2 separate regions of the Homo sapiens genome follow, and region 2 is linked to region 1. The links are contacts of gene promoters, found by promoter capture Hi-C in blood cells and fetal thymus (Javierre and others, 2016). All regions are on one chromosome and are shown on one strand. Each heading gives the region's core, a stretch centred on a gene start or on the middle of the fragment in contact. The rest is flanking DNA. Distances are from core to core; before and after follow the strand shown. Region 1 holds the start of VPS26A (VPS26 retromer complex component A). Region 2 overlaps KIFBP (kinesin family binding protein).

The links. Contacts are between HindIII fragments. The CHiCAGO score rates a contact against its expected background, and 5 or more counts as called.
Region 2: a contact is called between a fragment that was not itself captured here and the fragment with the promoter of VPS26A in region 1, in 6 of 17 cell types (monocytes, activated CD4 T cells, total CD8 T cells and 3 more). The highest score is 12.5, in monocytes.

The regions. Positions count from the first base shown.
Region 1 is chr10:69,122,049-69,127,103 of GRCh38, reverse strand. It overlaps VPS26A (VPS26 retromer complex component A), which reads right to left and starts at 2,926. Exons shown (of 9, transcript NM_004896.5): 1 at 2,824-2,926. The coding sequence starts at 2,826. RefSeq lists enhancers at 1,962-2,468, 3,333-3,692 and a silencer at 2,673-3,072. The HindIII fragment of the contact is 9,705 bases long and covers 248-5,055 here.
Region 2 is chr10:69,010,272-69,015,326 of GRCh38, reverse strand. It overlaps KIFBP (kinesin family binding protein), which reads right to left. Exons shown (of 7, transcript NM_015634.4): 6 at 4,312-4,427. Among named protein-coding and RNA genes, the nearest start is that of KIFBP, 24 kb to the right of the region's middle. The HindIII fragment of the contact is 2,761 bases long and covers 1,204-3,964 here.

The DNA.
Region 1 (5,055 bases), core at 1,677-4,176:
AAAAAAAAAATTGGCCGGGTGTGGTGGCGCATTCCTGTAGTCCCAGCTACTCAGGAGGCGGAAGTTGCAGTGAGCCAAGATCGCGCCACTGCACTCCAGCCTGGGCGACAGAGCGAGACTCCGTCTCAAAAAATAATAATAATAATAAAAGAACTAGTCTTACTAAAAAACACCTCCAGAAAATTGTGGATATCTTACATTTTACAGGTAGAGAACAAAAAGAAAAAAATAACTGAGGAAAAAAGCTTGTCTTTTAGAAAGAACTGAAAGAGAAAGATCTCTACCCAAAGTCTCTCTTTCAAAGTTTTTTCTAAGATGTGCAACTTCTGTCATTTGAAATAAAGGGTAATGAAATTAAATTCTTTTTCTAATTATTCTAAATAAAATTCTAATACTTCTGATATGTTAAAGAGGAAGTAAAATACACAACTGTCAAGCTGGTAAAGACTAGAAGGAAAGAGAATAAAATTTGTTGAGGGTTAGGATATGATGCAGACAGCAATTCAGTTTTGAGATTTTTTTTTTTTTTTTTTTTTTTGAGACGGAGTCTCACTCTGTCGCCAGGCTGGAGTACAGCAGCGCGATCTCGGCTCACTGCAACCTCTGCCTCCCGGGTTCAATTGATTCTCCTGCCTCAGCCTCCTGAGTAGCTGGGATTACAGGTGTGCGCCACACCTAATTTTTTTATTTTTAGTTGAGACGGAGTTTCACCATGTTGGTCAGGCAACTTCCGCCTCCCGAGTAGGTGGGACTACAGCAATGCGCCACCACACTTGGCCAATTTTTTTTTGTTTTTGTATTTTTAGTGAAGACGGGGTTTCGCCATGTTGGCCAGGCTGGTCTCAAACTCCCGACTTCAAGGTGATCCGCCCACCTCGGCCTCCCAAATTGTTGGGATTACAGGTGTGAGCCACCGCACCCCGTGAGATCTTTTAAGTGCAAAAATACTACTCACTTCTTTTGGTAAAGATATCTTCAAGGGCGCATTTGGAATATTGCGATTTTCAGGATTAACTATTAATATGCAAGTTAAAACTCTTGAGCTTTTAAATAACTGGACTGCAATATATATGACTATAAAAACATGCTAGCAATTGTTTTTATAGTTTTCTAATCTTGGCCTAAACCTCCTATCACTGACTTTAGGTTAATTTAGGATTTTTCATATAATTTCTGAACCCAATATTGAGCATTACCAATTAGCAAAAATACATGGTAGATACATAAAAAGGCAACTTTTTAGTCCCCACTGAAGGAATTTCACTAAGTCCAGTGGATGTAAAGAAATGCAACTCATTGCATTTCTGAGGTGGAAGGCTGACTCTCAAAATTCATTCACTTAGCCCATACACAAGCAATGAAACAGCAAATTTTCATACATATATTACATCTGTGACCATTTCAGTGTTTTAAAGTTTTACAATTTAGTTTCTGTTTGGGTAACTTGAAAATATAAACTGCTCTTGAACATAATTCAAAAAAGCGTATTAAAAGTAATAATTACAAATGTAAGCAAAAAATAGGAGGACCTTTTAAGTTTTCTTTTCAAATGATATTCAATTAAAGAAGCCTGCCCTAACACTGACTAGGCAAGGTCCCCCAATACTTCCTTCTTAGTATCTGTCACAATTCTAATTTCCACGTTAAACAAATAATTTACACAAATAAATGTTTATCTCTCCCTACATTGTAAGCTACGAGAGCAGGTAGGCGCTGTTTCCATTTTACTGGGGTCCCCTAGGCACACCTGAGCAATTATTTGTTGAATGAAAGAAAAAAAGCTCTAAGAATGAACATGAATGTCTGGATTTTGTTTTGTTTTGTTTTGAAAGCAACATCATTACTGAAATTAAAAGTTATTTATTCAAAGTAGCTTTTTAAAAATATACCTGGCTCGGCCTTTTAAGCCAAAAGTCTCAAGCAGTCTATTGAATCAGTGAGCTTTGGGAAGAGCAGGTAGTATTAGGAGAGCATACAGTAGGCGCTAAATGAAGAGAACTGACGACTACTACCAGAAAATGGGTAAAATGAGATCTAACCTAGAGACTGCCGACACCCAGCTAAATACCACAATGCCCAGGCTAGTGCTTCCGCGGACTGTGGTGAGAGCACTGATTCCCCTCCCTCCTCTGCCTCATAGGCCGTTTCAACAACCCAGAGCGTTAAGTTCAGCGAAATAGCTTGCGGACGGAAATGAGAGCCAATGCTTAAAACGGCGGGCACCAAACGGGTGTCTCTGGAGTTAAAGATATCCCCCATTCCAACGTCCTTTTATTTTTCTCTCCCATTTTACAAGTGTCAACAGAAAGCCTGAACTGGGGTCATGAAATCAAAGAATGTCACCATAGTCAGGTTTTAAAATATCAGAGTTTATCAAGTTCGTGACACACTGAGTGCCCAAGTCCCCCGAAGAGTCCGGAGGTGGGGGGCTCCCGGGTCGCCCCACCTGGATGGAAGAGAGGCTGCCCGGGAGGAGAACAGGGACTGGCTACCTAGGAAGGGGAGGCGGCGACCAGCCCCCGCAGAGGCGGGGTCCGAGTCCCCAGCCAGAGCCCCAACAAGCAGTCGAAGAACGCGGGCAGAGGCTCCGACATGGCCAGGAGAGCACGCCGCCGCCCGTAGGTGCTCGGGCCTCGCCGAGACCGGGAAGAGGTGGCGCCGCCAGCTTTTCCCAGACCCAGGGGTGGCCCGACAGGCCTAACCCCGCTCCCCGCCCTGCTCCCCCGTCCCCTCCTCCGGCGACGCCCGGCCCGCGGTTGGCCGGCCCGCCGCGCGCTCCGGGACGAGGGCGGGAGGCGAGCGCGCTGGCCGCCGCGCACTCACCATTGTCAACGCCGCCGCCGCGTCCCCCCTACTCCACTCCTCTTCCCTCAGGAGAACTCCCAGCCCCGGCTCCCTCCGCTCCGGCGCTCCGTCACGTGACCTCGGGCCGCCCCTCACACGTGACCGCTCCCTTCCTCTCCCCCACCCCCGCACCCGTCCCTCTCCCAGCCTCCTGCCCCGCCCTGCTGGCCGCCAGGCACTCCGGGGAGAGGCCGCTTGGAGGCGGGGCCTCAGGCTCCACCCTTCGGAGGGTGGAGAGGGGCGGGCAAATTACGTCGAGTGGGCGGGGCCTGAACAGAGGCGGGTTCGCGGGCTCCTCCTCGCCGTCTCTTCGGTCACCGGACGAGCGGTTCCGTGTCCGGCCTCTTTACCGCACCCAGTTCCTCTTTGTGAAAGTTTGAGCGGCTGGGAAGGAAGGAGGAGAGGAAGGATTCATCTGGAGGCTCTCTCCTTGGCTGGGTCCTTGGGTTGCCGAGGCGAGTGGGAGCCCTACTTCCTTAGGCCTCGCAAGAAGAGATGTGCTCTCTTCGTCCACGGCGAGGCGTTCTGCCACCTTGCCTGAACGCAGTCCCGCTCCACCTCCTTCTGAGTCTGGGTTTTCTTAACTTGGCTTTCTCGCCTCTGAAGAGAAGACCAGTAGAAAAAAATCCTAGGGTACAACTTTCATTGCTTCCCAAAGTCCCCAGATGGCCCCTGAGCGACCCACCCTGAGCCTGGAGGGCTCACAAACCCACCGTTCCGCCCAGCCGTTCTGAGAGGGCAAAGGCGCTCCCCCGAAAGTCCCACGGCGCAGCTGAAGACTACGCTGGCCTGAACTGGATCCTCCTCCCTAGTGTAAGCCTATAGGACCTCCAGATGAGGAAAATACTGTGTGGGATTTCAGAGTATAGTGTTGAAGGGCCACAGTGCACTCTATGCATAACCAAAGCAGAAGAAAAATCCATCCCTGAACGCACTATAATTACCCCACCTTAAAACAGAAGTTTGTGAGGCGAGTCCATGAAACAGGTATCAAAAAAAATTTTTTTATACTTAATCCTCAGTGTGAGCCTCAAATTTAAGAGGATTGAAATCAGAGTATCATCTCTAACCGCAATAGAATTAAAATTAGAAATCAACCCAAACAAGCCAGAAAATTCCGGAAATATTGGAAATTAAGCAACATAATTCCAAATCTCTAGGTCAAAGAAGAGATCAATGGAAATTTAAAAATAAGTTGAGGCCGGGCACGGAGGCTCACACTTGTAATCCCAACACTTTGGGAGGCCAAGGCAGGTGGATCACCTGAGGTCAGACACGAGTATCTCTTGAATCCGGGAAGCGGAGGTTGCAGTGCCCGAGATGGAGCCACTGCACTCCAGCCTGGGCGACAGAGCAAGACTCTGTCTCAAAAATAAAAAATAATAAAAATAAAATAATTTGAAATAAAAGATAATAATACAACATATCAAATTTGTGGAATGCAGTGACACTGTGTAAAAGGAAAATTTGTAGCTTTAAATGCACATATTTGGGCCAGGCATGGTGGCTCACAGTCTATAATTCCAGCACTTTGAGAGGCCGAGGCGGACGGATCACTTGAGGTCAGAAGTTTGAGACCAGCCTGGCCAACATGGCGAAACCCCGTCTCTACTAAAAATACAAAAATCAGCGGGGCATGGTGGTGCACGTCTGTAATCCTAGCTACTCGGTAGGCTGAGGCAGGAGGATCACTTAAACCTAGGAGGCAGAGATTGCAGTGAGCCAAGATTGCGCCACTGCACTCCAGCCTGGTGACAGAGCGAGACTCCATCTCAAAAAAAATAAATAACTATAGTAACACTGATATTGTTGTCTGTTTGAACTGTGAAAAGAAAGCAGCAAAAACAATGCAAATCTTTAATTAATAAAAGTGAAAAATGGTTTTTTTCACTTAGAAGATTTGCCTGTCACCTTGAGAGCTACTCTGGTTCCTACCCACTCTTTTCTGGGACTTAAATATCAACATAACAAAGAGAATAGATGAAAATGCCACACAGGCAAAGAAATACTAGCGAAGCCAGGTATAAATAAGAGGTGGCAAAGAAAGTCACACTAGAAACCAATTTGTACTAATTATTTATTCTACTGATCAAAACCCAATCAATAATTGTGCTATCATAATAAATACAAGAAGCAACAGAATTGTTGAGCTAGTTATTTGTCTGTCTGCCTACCTATCAATCTATTCAGCAAGCCAGAATGTTAGAGCTA
Region 2 (5,055 bases), core at 1,335-3,834, 110 kb after region 1:
TAGACAAGCTGCTTACATATCATTTATTCTGAGGAACTGAAATTTATTTACAGTTACTCCTTCCAATAAGATAAATGCTACATGTAAAAGTACTTTGAGAATTGTGAAACATTATATATATGTGATACATTACTCCCAGCACTTTGGGAGGCCAAGGCGGACAGATCACGAGGTCAGGAGTTGAAGACCAGCCTGGCCAACATAGTGAAACTCTGTCTCTACTAAAAATATAAAAAATTAGCCAGGCATGGTGGCAGGCGCCTGTAATCCCAGCTACTTGAGAGGCTGAGGCAGGAGAATCGCTTGAACCCAGGAGGCAGAGGTTGCAGTAAGTGGAGATTGCGCCACAGCACTCCAGCCTGGGTGACAGTGCAAGACTCCATCTCAAGAAACAAACAAACAAACAAAAAGACTGTAATCTACATCATAAAAATGTTTCACAAGGATGCCATTAAGATTAATGCTACCATGTTTATGCTATTAGTTATTTAGTGAAATATATCAGACAGAAATGCTCTAGGTCTCTTAAAGACATCAAAGTGAACAAAGAGTTAAATCTACCTTCCTAGTTAAAGTTTTATCTCCTCTACCTCTTGGGGGTGGGGGGGGGCAAATAAAAAAAGAAAGAATAACTAAGGTGGTTAAGAAATAGGGTAAGCTCTTCTTGGCCAATAAAAATAAATAATAGATCCCAAGGCCTTTTCTTCTTTTCACTTGACACTGTCTCACCAATGATCTTTCCACAAACCCTTCAAGGTTTCCAAATGCTCAGAAGATGAAGACAACAATGCTTCAAAGCCTTGATTGCTCCAGCCCCTTTCTAACTCTAACTTTAGCTTATATCACACTCCCTCTCCCTCAGCTCCAACCTCACAGCCTTTGCTCCATCCCTTCTGATATCATCCTCCCTTACGCCACAGAACTTCTAAACATGTTGCTTCAGCTCCTTGACATGGTGTGCCTTCTTTTCTTCAGTCTAGGTAACTCCTACTTACTCATCCCCAGAGCTTGCTTGTTATTTCCTCCTATTGTGCCTTCTCATATCATGTGTCTCTCCTTTGTGGAACTTAGCAAAATTGTACTTTTACATGAAGTTAAAGGCTAGGTTCATTTTTGTTCATCATAGTATCCTTGGCCAATGACTAGCACAGGGTTGGCATAAATAAATACTTAATTGAATAAATTTATGTATGTCTTAAAGCTTGAACTGAAGAAGGTCTTTCAGATAAATATACAGATGATAAAGGATGAAGTTAAGGTTAAAAAATAAAGTCAGGGGTGAGCGCAGTGGCTCACACCTGTAATCCCAGCACTTTGGGAGGCCGACGTGGGTGGATCGCTTGAGCTCAAGAGTTCAAGACCAGCCTGGGCAACATGGTAAAACATCGTCTCTAACAAAAATACAAAGAATTAGCCGGGCACAGTGGCACACACCTGTTGTCCCAGTTACTTGGCAGGCTGATGTAGGAGGACTGCTTGAGCCAGGGAGGTGGAGGATGCAGTGAGTGGAGATCATGCCACTGCACTCCAGCCCGGGTGACAGAAACCCCATCTCAAAAAACAAAACTGGGTTTAAGGAAAATCTGAGTAGTTTAGTAGCATGGCAAATATGTGAGTTTAAACTAACCAAGTGATGAAGTTTTAAGTTCCCAGACTAGAAACATCAACTAAATGAAAGGTAAGGGTCAAATCATAGTGCGATTTGCTTGACACAATTACTTCAAATGTAGATCATAAGTCTCTAAATCTTGTATACTTCCTTCCTTCTTGGGCTGCTTGTTTACTTACATGTTCTCTCTAGGATGCTTATTTAAATTAGCCTACTGTTTTGCTCCAATAGTCCCTGCAACCCTCCTTTTCCAGCTTTCTTTACCTGACCAGAATAAACTTGACAGCTCTTCCTGGCTCCAAATTCTCTACACATAAAGCCCCACAGTTATTCTCCCTACTTCCTGTCTTTCCTTAATATGCCTCCTCTTTACCCTCTGACCTCTAAAATTATCTTCATCTTTTCAAGACCTATGCTTCTGATGTGTTGAGGTTTGTTTGTTTGGTTTTCTTTCGTTTAGTAGTTTCACAAGGTTCTATATTATTTACCACTGATATGGTTTGGATTTGTGTCCCTGGCCAAATCTCACATTAAATTGGAGGAGGGACCTGGTGGGAGGTGACTGGATCACTGGGGGCAGATTTCCTCCTTGCTGTTCTTGTGGTAATGAGTGAGCTCTCTCATGAGATCTGATGGTTTTGAAGTGTGTGGCATTTCCCCCTTTGCCCTCTCTCTCTCTCCTGCTTGCCATGGTAAGACATGCTTGCTTCTCTTTCGCCTTCCGCCATGATTCTAAGTTTCCTGAGGGCTCCTAGTCATGCTTCCTGTTAAGCCTGAGGAACTGTGAGTCAATTAACCTCTTTTCTTCATAAATTACCCAGTCTCAGGTAGTTCTTTTGTTTTGTTACCCAGGCTGGAGTGCAGTGGTGCAGTCTTGGCTCACTGCAACTTCTGCCTCCTGGGCTCAAGTGATTCTCCTGCCTCAGCCTCCCCAGTAGCTGGGACTATAGGTGCACACCACCATGCCTGGCTAATTTTTTGTATTTTTGGTAGAGACAGGGTTTCAACATGTTGTCTAGGCTGGTCTCAAACTCATGGGCTCAAGTGATCCACCCACCTTGGCCTCCCAAAGTGCTGGGATTATAGGCATGAGGCGCTGTACCTGGCCTCAAGTAGTTCTTTATAGCAGTGTGAGAACAGACTAATACAACCACTAAAGATTATTATACTTTTATCAAGCAGAGTCCCATGTAAAAAAAAAAAATTATCATACTTTAATACACAATATAAAAAAATAAAAGCACAATGAATCCCCCAGGAAATCTTCCTATGTATCTACACTTAGTATATTGCATCTAAATGATTAATTTTATTATCCTCCCTAGTGCTTAGAAACTAGGATTGGGCATAAATTAATAATGATGATGGTAGTTAACATTTATTAAGGACTTAGTATGTCTCAGGCACTTTTCCGAGGCCTTAATATATACTGACTTAACTCCCATAACAACAGTATTAAGTACTATTATCTCCAACTTACTTGTGAGGAAATAGAGGCAAAAATATATTAAGTAAATTGCCACAAAGACATAGCTACGAAGCGGCAGAGCTGGAGTTCATACCTACCTAGTGTATTTCAAGTCCATGCTCTTCACTGCCATCAGTTCTGCTTCTATTTTTGAACTATTACATGAGCTATTTCTTAAAAGTCTACCCTTTTAGATTTTATCAAGTCCATGCTGTGTGTAAGATAACACTGGGAAGTATATAAAGATTAGTAAGGGCTTGGCCAGGTGTGGTTGCTCACACCTGTAATCCCAGCACTTTGGGAGGCCGAGATGGATGGATCACTTGAGGTCAGGAGTTCGAGACCAGCTTGGCCAAAATGGTGAAACCCCATCTACACTAAAAAGACAAAAATTAGCCAGGCATGGTGGCAGGCACCTGTAATCCCAGCTACTCAGGAGGCTGAGGCAGGAGAATCCTTTGAACCCAGGAAGCAGAGGTTGCAGCTGCGATCACACCACTGCACTCCAGCACGGGCGACAGAGCAAAACTCCGTCTCAAAAAAAAAAAAAAAAAAAAAAAAAAAAAGATTAGGCACAGTGGCTCACACCTGTAATCCCAGCACTTTGGGAGGCCAAGGCAGGAAGATCACTTGAGCCCAGGAGTTCAAGACCAGCCTTGGCAACACAGTGAGAGCCAGTCTCTACAAAATAATTTAAAAATTAACTGGATATGGTGGCACACGCCTGTACTCCAAGGATGAGGTGGGAGGACTGCATGAGCCGGGGAGACCAAGGTTGCAGTGACCCATGATCACGCCACCACACTCCAGCCTGGGAAACAGAGCGAGAGCCTGTCTAAAAAAAAAAAAAAAAAGAATATGATATCGTTCCCAGCTCTCAAGAAGCTTATATTCTAACCAAAGAAAAGTCTTCAAGGAAGAGGTAGTATTTAAGATAGGCCTTGAATGATGAGTAAGATTTATTTTATTTATTTATTTATTTAGAGATGGAGTCTCGCTCTGTTGCCCAGGCTGGAGTGCAGTGGTCCAATCTCGGCTCACGCAGCCTCTGCCTCCCGGATTCAAGCAATTCGAAGAATACGATTTAAAACCAAGAAAGAAATATTTACGAAAACATTCTACACACCTTTCATATTAAACACAATGTGACCCCAATGAGCACAATCCCCACTATGAGTTTTTACTTACAATTTCCTCATTTAAGAAAGAAAAAGGCAGCTTCTGACTGCATTACCTGCATGGAGAGTTGGGCATTCTGCATGAGAGTCAAACAGTATTTGATCCAGCACCTTGCTATTTCCCCCTTTCTTTGATGATAAAGCTCTGGCACTTCTCCTTCAGCTTCAGGAGCTAAAATATACATGTGATTTGTTTAAGTTAATGGTCACAACTGTAATTTTCATTGGGTACTGTAATTTTTTTAATATCACTTTTTCCTGACTATAAAAGTAACAGATCTTTACTGAAGCAGGGGGCTTGGGGAAAAGGGAAGAAAGATCCCCCCCCAAATCCTACTACCCAGAAGCACTCACTATTATTTTTGCATATTTCTTTCTCGCACCACAAACACTTTACTCATATCATTATCAACTCTTAGCTTCATTTTTAAGTACACCATTATATACAATTAAATAGATATTCTATTATTTAACCATTCTTCTAATTCTAACCTGGAATTTGTTGTTTCCAATTCTTTACTATCACAAAAACGTCTATGTCACACAACAGATGGTTGTGGAGAACCTGGTGCTAAACTATTCAGATGACCTGCTTCTGGGTCAGAGTGTCATACATAGCAGAGCAGCTTTCTTGCTGTAATCTACAAAGTCAGCTGTCAACACAAAGCTTTGTAAAGTTTATACACATACACACATTTTTTTTAAACTTGAAACATGAGTATAATTGTGCAAAAATCTGTCTGGATTTTGGATTTCTTCCTTAGGGCAGATTCCTAGAAGTGGAATTTACTGAGTAAAAG